Regions from separate parts of the Homo sapiens genome. Here all the other regions are linked to region 1. Evidence: promoter capture Hi-C in 16 types of primary human blood cells and fetal thymus (Javierre and others, 2016). All regions are on one chromosome and are shown on one strand. The core of a region is centred on a gene start or on the middle of the fragment in contact, and the rest is flanking DNA. Distances in the headings are between cores, read along the strand shown. Region 1 holds the start of MED22 (mediator complex subunit 22). Region 2 holds the start of LOC102723855 (a long non-coding RNA gene). Region 3 has its middle 10 kb from the start of GBGT1.

Region 1 (4,004 bases), core at 442-2,941:
CTATATGACTATAATTTAATGACAACTGCAGTTCAAGAAGCCTAAGACCATCCCCCTCATGTTCTGGATGAAATAAGGAATCCTTGCCTGAGAAACTCCTTTCCACGCCACAGAACCTCACCTGTTTGGCGGTCCAGGGCCTGGGTGAACTGGTTAATCGCAGGAGGCACTTTCAGCCGCTTATAGAGGATGGCTCTCTGCCGCTGCAACCTGATATAGCGGGGCCATTTCACAAAGCGGGTGAGGTCTCTTTTGGGCTGGATGTCCTGTCCTGAGAAGTAAAGGGTGACACCGAGTGAGGCTCAAATTCCATGTCAAGTTCATGTCTGGGGCCACTAGGAAGGGTGTTGGTGCATCAGCGATCTTGGTGGTTTAAAATGTCATCACCATCTCTCAGATAGCAAATATTCTTTTACATCATCTGCACACAAACACCTGAGAACAAAGAGCACGATGCTTTTCCTCATCTAACAAGAAGCCAAGGTGCCACGAAGTACAGCAGAATTGCAGTCCTAGTACCTCGCTGCGACACTGCTACTGTACTTGTTTCCAGATGGCTAAGCTGAATTCAAGGCCACTACCATATTGAGCTGAATGCTCGCTCAGCAACTCCCAATGAAAGCAAGAAGCATGTATCATTGCCCCCGTCTCTAAGAGACACAAATTAAGGACTGCGACCACTTTACACCCACTAAAACCTACAAGATACAACACAACCCAATTACCACCTTCCCTTGAGAAAAACATAGACCGTTTTCATTCTGCCGTTTGTTACTTACCAATGCCAAAATTCTTAGGCCTTTTCTCAAACAGGGGATTCACCACTTTCTTAGCCTCCTGCTTCTTCACGACAGCTGGGGCCGGAGCCACCTTCTTTCCCTTGGCCTTCTTTCCTTTCGGCTGGGCAGAAAGAAAACGTCAGTTAAACCGCCGCCTCCACTCGCTTCGTCGGGGGTAGGGCTCAGGCTGGCTCCTCCAAAACAAGGGACGCTGACAGCACCTGCCTGAACTAAGCTGGCGAGCAGCTTTCTGCAACCCCCCAGCACCACCCCTCGACAGGAGCATCTCACATTCAGCCGCACAAGCATGCAGCCCCGGGAACCCCGAGTGGCCAGAGCAAGGCTAAGCCCGAGACCACGCTCTCTTCGCGTCGCCCACCCAGGAGACACCCCGGACTCATGACTCCTCTGAGTCGCGGCCCCACAGGCTCTAGAAGCAACAGGGGCGGGCTCAGAACTCGTCGCTCACAAGGCCTCTGGAGCGGCCCCCAGCAAGCCCGAGAGACGCTAGGGCTCCGAGCCCCGCACTGCGGTGCTCCAGGCCTGCGACACCCAGCCCTGCGACACCGGGAACAACGCATTCCGCTCTCGGCCGCCCGGGGCTCTAGTCCATCTCAATGTCTCCGTGCCACACCAAGTGGGGCTCTAATCCACCTCGGTGTCTCCGTGCCACACCGAGTGGGGCTCTCCTAGCGCCAGGAGGAGCAGGAGGCCCTCCGAGGCCGCGCCTGGAGGAGGATGGCAGCGGATACAGCCGGAACCTGGCTATAGTGCCACGGAACTACAGCTCACTCACCATCTTGGGCGGCGGGAGGAGAGAGAAAGGAAAGGGAATTGTGGGTAATATGTATGCGGCCTCGGAGATCGCGAGAGTTGATACCGGCACGGGATTTCGGATTTAAAGCAACAGCATTCCTATAAAGCTAAAAATCGAGGCGGGGCCGAGAGGCTGCGGCGGCTGACTAGGTTTTCGGACCGCGGCGCGGCGGGGAAGAGAGACTGCGGCGGGAGGGCCAGGCCGTGGGAGAGACGCGGGAAAGTGCGGGTCGCAGAGGCACTTGACCACCCCGCCCTAGGCCGACCCGGCGGACGCGGCGTCTGGTGTGCGGGCGCTGGGGCGGGTATGAGGGTGTGGTGGGGGGTGGGGATGGAGGGGGGGTGGGTGTGTGGGCGGGAGTGGGGGTGGGTGGGTGCGTAGGCGCTGGGGTCGGAGATCCCCTTTCCTGCGTGTGACTTATTTCCCACACCCCGCCAAAAATGGGCACAAACAATGCGAGTGCGTCCAGGAGTCCGCTCGGTCGTGCGCCAGACTCCGAACCTAGGGGGCCCCGGGCCCTCCCTGAGCACCGCGCGCAAAGGCCCGGCCCCAGGGCCAGGCAACTCCAGCGCCGAGGCCGTCCAGTGCGGCTGGAGGGCAGAGGCCGAGAGGCGCGGCGCGGAACTTGAGCCCCTTGTCCCGGCGCACCGGGGAACCATGAGGGATGTTAAGCGAGGGAGTGGAATTACCCCCCTTTTTTTTTTCTTTTGGAGACGTAGTCTCCCCCTGTCGCCCAGGCTGGAGTGCAGTGGCGCGATCTCGGCTCACTGCGACCTGTGCTTCCCGGGTTCAAGCGATTCTCCTGCCTCAGCCTCCCGAGTAGCTGGGATTACAGGCGCCTGCCATCACGCCCGGCTAATTTTTGTATTTTTAGTAGAGTTGGGGTTTCACCATGTTGGTCAGGCTAGTCTCAAACTCCTGACCTCAGGTGATCCCTGCCTCGGCCTCCCAAAGTGCTGGGATTACAGGCGTGAGCCACCGCGCCCGGTTGGAATGACCACTTTTTAGGACCTCTTCCCTGCCGCGCAGAGACTGGAGGGAGCGGGGCCCGCAGTGCAGGGATGAGGTCTGGAGCGGGGCAGCCTGAGTGGGAGTGGAAGGAAAGCGTGGATGTAGGCGGTGCAGAGGGGTCGAATTGGAAGGACTCTTCGGATGGGAGGGCGTGGCGAAGGTGGCGGCGGGCTAAGAAGTTAAGCCAAGGGCTGGGGACGGGGAGCTGGTGTTGAGTTTGCAGGGCTCCCTGGGACACGCTGTGGGCCTGGACGTGAAGTCTGGACTGGAGCCCTGGACAGGGCTTGGAGGGCTGGCCAGGAGTTCCAGGATGAGCTTGCTCTGGCAAAGGCGGGGCCAGTCCTGGCACCCCCTGCGGTGTCTGCTGATGGAATGAGTTCATCTGTGTTTCAGTGATTGACTTTATTTGGCAGAAAGGGAATCCCCAGAAATCTGCGTGTTCTGCTAAGGTTGGGGCATAGAGGGTGGCTGGGGTAGACTCTGCCTGCACTCAGAGGTCTGTGCTGCACTCTAGGTCCCAGGTCTCCCCGCTGCGCTGCTTGAGGCTCGGCCATGGCCCAGCAGAGAGCCCTGCCCCAGAGCAAGGAGACGCTGCTGCAGTCCTACAACAAGCGGCTGAAGGACGACATTAAGTCCATCATGGACAACTTCACCGAGATCATCAAGACCGCCAAGGTGGGGGTGGGGTGGCCCACCAAGGGGAGCAGAGTCTGAGAAGGGGTGGAGACAGGAGAGGCCAGGGGCTGAGCAGCGCGAGTGAATAGTGTTCTAGGCAGGAAGCACCCAGTGCACAGGGAGCTGGTCAGTAGATAAGCAAACCAAATAATGGCACGTCCAGCCCTTACTAACAGTATGGATTTGGATGGAGATTTCACTTTTTAGTGCCTCAGTTTCTCCTGCATGGTGGGGTCCTTGTGATGACTGGTGAGTTTATCTGTGTAAAACAGTTACCTCGGGGCCTGGCACACAGCCAATGAGCAGGAGAAAAGCAGACTGAGGGGAGAAGTGGGGGGGGGCCTCCAGGCAGGTGGAGCGGTCAGCACTGGGGCCTGCAAGCCTGCTGACCACTGCAGCTACAGCTGCATCAGATTGGGCTGGATCCCTCCTGGCTGCTGCAGACCTGGCAGGCTCCATAAGCGATGATGATGAGGATGGAAGCTAGCATGTACTTAGTGCTTGCCATGTATCAAGCCACGTTGTGAGGTTATCTGTGCCTGTTCTGCTGAATCTTCATGAGGACTCTGTGAGGTGGGCACTGTTGTCCTCTTCATTTCAGGAGGAAACCCAGGCCCAGGAGACTTAGTGACTTGCCCAAGGTCACTCAGCTCACAACTGGCTGAGCCAGGATTTGAACCCACGAAGTCTGGGTCTTAACCACTGAGGGTACCTGACACCCA
Region 2 (3,831 bases), core at 344-2,843, 150 kb before region 1:
GGACGCAGGGGAGGCCGGGGCTGGGTGGGTTCAAGGCCAGTTCGTGTCCCAGCCATGGGGGCGGGACACCCGGGCAAGCTTTCCAGCCCCCTCTCTATCAACTGAGCTGGCAGGCCTGTCCGTTTCAGGACAGCAGAGCCCTGTACCCATCCTCCATGCGCAAGAAGCAAACCCCACTCCTTATCTGCAGGAGGAGGCGGGCTTCTCTGTCGATATGGGCAAGCCCCTCAGGCAGACATTCCCATTCTTCCAATATAAGGCCTTCAAACATTTTAGGAGGCATGCAGGCACCCCATCTCCTCCTCCCCCTGAAATCCCAGATGTAATTACAATACGTGTGGCATCCCAGGGCGACAGGACCAGCTGGAAGCCGGACCCTAGCCATGTGAACACAGGTACACGAGACTCACAATGGGCACTCACACGCAGACACCCACACGGCCCCTGCAAGCGTCGCCCACACCCAGGCCAGCGCTGAGCCGTCCAGTCTGGGCTCTGCCTTGGCAGACACCAGGGCAGATGCACCTGCCGCCAACGGCCCCAACACCCACCCAGGGCCACCTCCCTCCCAAGTACCTGGGGCAGCCTCGCCCTGCATAACCCGATCCCCTGGCTGGCCCCACACATGTGTTTTTTCACTGAGCTCAGGCATCACCTCCTCCAGGAAGCAGCCTGTCCCCGCTCTCCCATGTCCCGGGTCCTGTGCCCCTCTGACCTGCCCCGGCTCTCCTGTGTCTGGGGGCCTGTGCCCCTCTGCCCTGCCCCGGCTCTCCTATGTCCCGAGTCCTGTGCCCCTCTGCCCTGCCCCGGCTCTCCTGTGTCCGGGGACCTGTGCCCCTCTGCCCTGACCTGGCTCTCCTGTGTCTTGGTGCCTGTGCCCCTCTGCCCTGCCCCAGCCTGCCGAGGGTGTGATGGTTTTCAGTGTGTCTCCCCTCTGGAACTGGTCAGCCCTCAAGGCAGGGCTGACCCCCATCCCAGTGCCTGGTATGAAGCTGGGCCTGAGCTTCCTCAAAAAGCGTCTGATGCACAAGCGAATGTGGTGACAATACCCACGAAGGGCCACCCTGAGCCTGTCAGATAGGAGGCGGCATTGCTTTGCTGAAGCGTGGGAATGCACGCAGGAGTGTGAGCACAGGCCCTGGCCCTGGACCGCCCCGTTCACCCAGGGCCCTGCTGGTCCTTCAGGCTCGAGAACACGATGTCCACAGGCTCCCAGGAACTGCAAGTGAGCAGAGTGGCCGAGAGCCGTGACCCCAGGACAGCAGCTGAGCAACAAGGGGGCCCCCAGCAGGCCAGGCAACCCAGGGCCCCAAGTGACATGTCCCCTCGCCCCAGGCACCCTTCACCCCAGCCATGGCCTGCATAGCAAGCCACTGCCATGCAGCCTGGGGAGCTCCAGGCTTAAGGTCCTGGCAGTGACTCTGGAATGGAAGTGCCAGGGCACAAACTCCAGGACCACCCCTTACCATGACCTGCAGGGCCGTGGGCAGGCAGGAAGCCCCCTCATGGCCAGGTTTCTTGAGGGCACCGTGGTTTCATGGCAGCATCTGCCTCCCAGGGCTGCTGCGGAGGGGAGAGGAAGGGACACAGAGTTCTGGAGAGGTGCTGCTTGCCAGTGGGGCCCCTGCAGATGGACAGAAGCCTGAGGGCGGCCCCCTCTGATTTCCAGCCTTCCCTCCAACCTTCTCCTGCATCCACCTGGCTGCCATTTGGGCAATTCCCAGGAGGATGAACAGAGTAGCCGAAGCCCGCAACACAGACATTTAACTTAGGAAAGATCTGATTGGTTCGGACACCCCTCGCCCCGGGCAGTGAGAAGAGGGCCTGGGCAGACCCTGCCTTGTTCCCCGTGGCCTCCCCAGCCCCCAGTCCCTGCCACCCCTGAGCCAGGGAAATCCTTCTGCGCTGGAAGTGCGGCAGCCCACAGAACAGAGTGCAGCCTGGGCATGCCCTCGGCCCTTTCCCTGAACCTGTTTCTTCTTCTGTAAAGTGGGAGAGAAGGACACGCACAGCTGGCAGAGGGCGCAGGGAGCATGACCACCAGCCGAGCACGCTGTGCGTGTGGGAAGCACCCAGTGGCAGCTACAAACAAACAGGCCCCGGCTCCCCTGTCCTCCTTCTTCTCGCCAGCAACCCCAGAGATCTATTCCGGGGACCCGGCCACAGCTGGGCTCCCGAGCCCCACATCCCCCAGCCCGAGGTGCCCTCAGGCCTTCCAGTGGAACATTTTTGACATAGTCTAAACCATCAGCAAAACAAGATGAAAATTCAGTAATTGCTTTTGGCAGGGAGTCCATGGGCCAGCACAGAGGCCAAAAATAACCCCGGGGAAGTTTCCTGGGCCACCTGCAGCCCTGGGGGCCCGTACTAGGCTCTGTCTGAACACAGGCCAGGACGGGTCTCGGCCTGGCCCTGCAAGCCAGCCTGGACAAAGCAGGGAGGCGGGCAGGGACTCGGGGGGCAGCGGGACAGAGTGAGGCTGTCACTTAGCACACTTCAGGCCAGGAAGTGCCCGGCCATCCGGAAAAATGTAATGTCATACTTTAGCAAGAAAAGCAGCTGTCATGCTACTTAGCAGCCCACAAATAGTTGGCTGAGTCCTAGAGCGGGTGTTGGCTGAGCCTGGGAGAGCAGAGATGCCAGGCTGGCAGGGCGGTGTGGGCCTCGTCCGGCCAGGTGGTATTCCCTCCCAGCCCCTCGCTCCCCCAGTCTCCCCCAGGCCTGGTCAGTCCCCAGCAGGCTGTGGGGGGCGCGAACCCCCTGAGGTTACAGCCCAAGGTCGCTGCACATCTGGCCACGGTAGGGGGACCTCGTCTGACCCCTCCCTTAATGCCTGCTGGGGAACCCCAGAGGGGACAGGAGCTCACTTCACCGGGTCAGAATCAGACCTCTCACCCACATCCCAGGCAGCCTAATCCTTTCCTCCAGGCCTCAGGGCCTCATCTGTAAACTGAGGCTGTCAAAGATGGTGGTCAAGGTACCAGAAGCCCATTAAGTAGCCAACCAGCCAGGCTCAGGGCTGACCCCCGCGCTCTCCTCTCCCCCATTTTACCGATGAGGAAATGAAGGCTCACGGAGGGAAGACCACACAGCGAGGATTGAAGCTTGGGTGGGACCCCAGGAGCAGAGCGGGCAAGGACGGCGGCTTCCCAAGGAGGGCTGATTGGCCTGCAGAGGGGTCAAGGACAGTGGTGTCCCTAGGAGGGGCTGATGCACCAGCAGAGGAGACGGGCCAGCCCCACCCTTGCCTTATCCAATTCCTTCTTCATCCCCCTAAATGGGATGCCCAGAATGCATGTGGGTTGCCTGAAGCCCCTTGAAAGCCCCCGGAGTGTCAGATGGGGGGTGTCCAGCCAGGTCTTTGGTTGAAGGAAAAGAGAGAGAACCCACCAGAGCCCAGTCCCGGGCGGGCTTCGCCTGCAGGAGGAGCCCCACCCCATGCCGTCCCGGTGAGGAAGTCAGGCGACACCTCTGTGCACCTGGCCATCTGCTGTCTGCGTACCTGCTCCTGTCCAGTCTGAGTGTCATTGGGTGTTTTTCATTCTCACCTTCCAGAGGATACCGAGGCTGGAAGAGGCACAGTGACCGGCACAGGGCCCCAGGGTCCTAGGTTGTACTAGGTCTCAGATGAACGCATGACCTAAAGCCACCCACCTCTCTGGGAGCTGGGCCAAGTGCAACTTCCCACCCAGGCTGTCCTCCTCCCTCCCTCCTCCTCCAAGTCCTCCTCCAGTTCCTCCTCCCCTCCTCCTCCCCCTCCTCTCCCTCTAGCTCCTCCTTCCCCCTCCTCCTCCAACTCCTCCTCCCCCTCATCCTCCAGCTTTTCCTCCT
Region 3 (3,771 bases), core at 450-2,949, 170 kb after region 1:
GCCTATAATCCCAGCTACTGGGGAGGCTGAGGTAGGAGAATCACTTGAACCTGGGAGGCAGAGGTTGCAGTGAGCCAAGATCGTGCCATTACACTCCACTCCAGCCTGGGCAACAAGAGCGAAACTTCGTCTCAAAAAAAAAAATCCAAGTGATGCCAGCAAAAGATACATTGTGCTTCCAGACATCACGCACTCAAGATTTGGGAATTACTTATGTTGATACAAGTGATTGCTTGTATAATGTAACTGGATTAAATCCAGTAGGGTCTCTTTTTTACTAGATATGGTTATATACCCTTACAACATGCTATAAAGGGGCCACAGAAAAGTAAATTTCCCACTGGACGTTGTTCAGGAGGTATGCAGATTTGTGGTCGAACAAACCTGACTGATCTCTGCTCAAATGCAACTAGGTGGCCCTCTTTTCCAATCCCCAAGGGTCTATACTGGGTCTGTGAAGAGTCTGCGTATCCTGTTCTGCCTCCTCATTGGTTGGGTTCTTGTTATGTGGCCTGGCTTGCTCCTGCCTTTCAAATAGCTTCCCCTGAAAATTCTCATGATGGCCCTTATGATTGGAGGCCAAAATGATCAATAACTGAAATTAGCACTAGCCTTGAAATATTTGAGGATAAGCTCGTTTCTACTGAGGAAAGATTCCAGTGGGATTCCTGGGGGTGCACTCTTGGTGGTAGTGAGATAGCAGTTGTATGGAATTTAAAGCTAATTTGTAAATTGGGAAAAATCTTGGATTTTGTAATCAATCAGACCTCCCAGGGTTTCAGATGGGTAGAAGCTGCTCTCAGAAAGATAGATGACAGGGCTGGGCATGGTGGCTCACGCCTGTAATCCCGGCATTTGGGAGGCCAAGGCGGGCAGATCTCTTGAGGTCAGAAGTTTGAGACCAGCCTGGCCAACATGGTGAAACCCCATCTCTACTAAAAATACAAAAATTAGCCAGGCATGGTGGCTCATGCCTGTAATCCCAGCTACTTGGGAGGCTGAGGCAGTAGAATCGCTTGAACCCAGGAGGCGGTGGTTGCAGTGAGCCAAGATAATGCCATTGCACTCCAGCCTGGGCAACAGAGTGAGACTCCATCTCAAAAAAAAAAAAGATAGATGACAACACGTGAATTCAGCAAAAACACTTACTGGAACATCGTGCAACCTCAGATCTTTTTGCTCAAGCTGGAAGCCTAGGTTTGGTGTTAAACAAAACTGAATGTTGTACTACTTATCTCTTACCTGATTTTGTTATTACAGGAAGCTTAATTTAAAAGGTGCTGATACTGCTGTTTCCTTAGACACTGCCACCAAATACATTAAAGACATCTCTCAAGAGAAAGGAGCCCATGACATGTTTACAATAGGCAACTAACGGTTTGCAGGCATCCTAAGGGTGGATGGCAAGCTTGGGTTTTCCAAGGGCTTCTAATCCTTATAATTCTTCTAGTAGGTTTCCAAGTTATTATGACTTGTATTACCAATGTAACAATGAAAATGAGTAACTGTTTAAGTCAGGCCACTTTACAGCAAACCATGGTCCTTAATCGCTATCATACTCTAAACGAGGATAATGACCAATTGGACCCTAACACTGTTGAACTGCCTATATTGTCTGAACCTTCACTTGGCTAATTTGGTTCGGTTCATTTCATAAGAACTCTCATTAAGGAGTACGCCTTGGCATTTTGATAGTATCCTCTTGATAGTCATAATAATCGTCACCCTGATACACTGTATCCTCTCAAGTCTTAAATGTTTTGTATGCAGCCATCCATTGAGAGTTGAATGGTCTCATTCCAACCAGGTCAAAAAGAACATAAAGAATCATTTAGCTGGTACAAAGCTGCAACTTGTGAATTCCATGTTAACACCAAAGAAGATGTGTGAGACTCCATACTGAAACTAAAGAAGACTTGTGAATTCCACACTGAGACCAAATAAGTCTTTAGGATGGTGACAGAGAGTGGCATCAATGCCTAAAGCTTCGGTCAATCTCTCTAAATTGAGAGGCTGACCAAAAGAGGGGAATTGTTAAAGCAAACTAAATATGGCCTAAGAAGGGACTCCCTACCTCTCTATTTGAGTCCTTGTGGATGAACCATAAGCTGGCTTAATAGGCAGACAAGATGGAAAACCCAACTTAGTAGTATGCACCTATAACAATGGCTGAGTGTTGGCCAATCCCAGCGGCCATACTTCAACCACTCATAGACTGCTGAGTGTTTAAACTGTGTTCAACTAAGGCAAACGCCGAGATGCAACCAATCTCTGTTTCTGTACTTCATTTCCAATTCCTGTACATCACTTTACTTTTTTGTCTATAAATTTGTTCTGACCACGAGGAACCCCCAGAGTCTCTGAATCTGCTGTGATTCTGGAGGCTGCCCGATTTGTGAATCATTTCTTTTTTATTTTTTTCCAATTAAACTCCATCAAATTTAACTTGTCTGAAGTTTTAACAGCTGGTAACACCAGCACCATAGCTTCCTGATGCATTCACTCATTCAGCAAATATTCTCTGGTCCTGCTGTGTGCCCAGCTGTGTGCCTCAGTGAGCGTGATCCGATGAGGTCACTCCCCACGTGGAGCTCACGCCCACTCTGTGACGTGCAGGGACGGTCCATGGGGTTAGCAGGGATGATGAGCACCGGGAATTGGCCATTTTATTAAAAGAGAGTCCTGTATTTGAAAGAAATAATGGAGAAAAGGCCTACTTGGCACTTGATCTTGAAAAATGAAATAAAAATATGAAAAATAAATGTAGCCTTTTTTGTTTGCTTGTTTGCTTTAAGACAGGGTCTCACTCTGTTGTCCAGGCTGAAGTGCAATGGTGCAATCTCACTGCATTCTCTCCCTCCCTGGCTCAAGCAATCCTCCCACCTTAGACTCCCAAGTAGCTGGGACTACAGGCACACACCACCACACCCAGTTAATTTTTGTATTTTTGTATTTTTTGTAGAAACGGGGTTTCTCCATGTTGCCCAGGCTGGTCTTGAACTCCTGGCTTCAAGGAATCTGCTCACTTCGGCCTCCCAAAGTGCTGGGATTACAAGTGTGAGCCACCATGTCCAGCCAAATGTATATTTAACAAAATGTGGCCCAGTGCAGTGGCTCACGCATGTAATCGCAGCACTTTGGGAGGCTGTGGCGGGCGGATGACCTGAGGTCAGGAGTTTGAGACCAGCCTGGCCAATATGGAGAAACTCCGTCCCTACTGAAAATACAAAAATTAGCTGGGCGTGGTGGTGGGCACCTGTAATCCCAGCTACTGGGGAGACTGAGGCTGAGAATCGCTTGAACCTGACAGGCAGAGGTTGCAGTGAGCTGAGATCATGCCACTGCACTCCAGCCTGGGTGACAGAGAAAAACTCTGTCCCAACCCCCCTCCCCCAGAAAAGGAAGCTATAATAGCAAGTATACACTGAGTTTTAGAAACAACAATGAATAAATAAGTCCACAGTAGATTAGGTACGTGTGACACAATTTTTACGACAAAATTATAGCGTATCAGCAGAAATCTTCTAGGGCCTCATTAATTTTCCTAAGGGTTCGTAAATCTTCTAGTGCTTAAATTGTTCTCTTTGAAACCGTCTGTCACATTATCTTTTTTGTCAGTTGTCTCTTCTTCCATTGCTAAGTGATCTGACTCCGCCAGGGTCTCCCTTGGCAGTGGCTTGCTGTGTCTGGACAGGCTGCCAGCAGCCCTTCCTCAGCCAGGCGAGCTCCGGTTTCTTCCCACGATTTGCATTTCCCTTTGCAATTGATTGG

Evidence for each region. Contacts are between HindIII fragments. The CHiCAGO score rates a contact against its expected background, and 5 or more counts as called.
Region 2: a fragment that was not itself captured here is called in contact with the fragment with the promoter of MED22 in region 1 in 1 of 17 cell types (endothelial precursors); the score reaches 5.3 in endothelial precursors.
Region 3: a contact is called between a fragment that was not itself captured here and the fragment with the promoter of MED22 in region 1, in 1 of 17 cell types (erythroblasts). The highest score is 6.4, in erythroblasts.

What each region holds. Positions count from the first base shown.
Region 1 is chr9:133,345,818-133,349,821 of GRCh38, reverse strand. MED22 (mediator complex subunit 22) reads left to right here and starts at 1,691. Exons shown (of 5, transcript NM_133640.5): 1 at 1,691-1,900; 2 at 3,122-3,282. The coding sequence starts at 3,160. RPL7A (ribosomal protein L7a) reads right to left here and starts at 1,604. Exons shown (of 8, transcript NM_000972.3): 1 at 1,576-1,604; 2 at 780-900; 3 at 122-271. The coding sequence starts at 1,578. It overlaps SNORD24 (small nucleolar RNA, C/D box 24), which reads right to left and starts at 426; the gene lies at 352-426. RefSeq lists enhancers at 1,183-1,652, 1,514-1,808, 3,113-3,614, 3,615-4,004. The HindIII fragment of the contact is 16,795 bases long and covers 1-4,004 here.
Region 2 is chr9:133,491,048-133,494,878 of GRCh38, reverse strand. LOC102723855 (a long non-coding RNA gene) reads right to left here and starts at 3,168. Exons shown (of 3, transcript XR_428608.4): 1 at 1-3,168. The HindIII fragment of the contact is 3,026 bases long and covers 81-3,106 here.
Region 3 is chr9:133,172,204-133,175,974 of GRCh38, reverse strand. No RefSeq gene overlaps it. Among named protein-coding and RNA genes, the nearest start is that of GBGT1, 10 kb to the right of the region's middle. The HindIII fragment of the contact is 577 bases long and covers 1,411-1,987 here.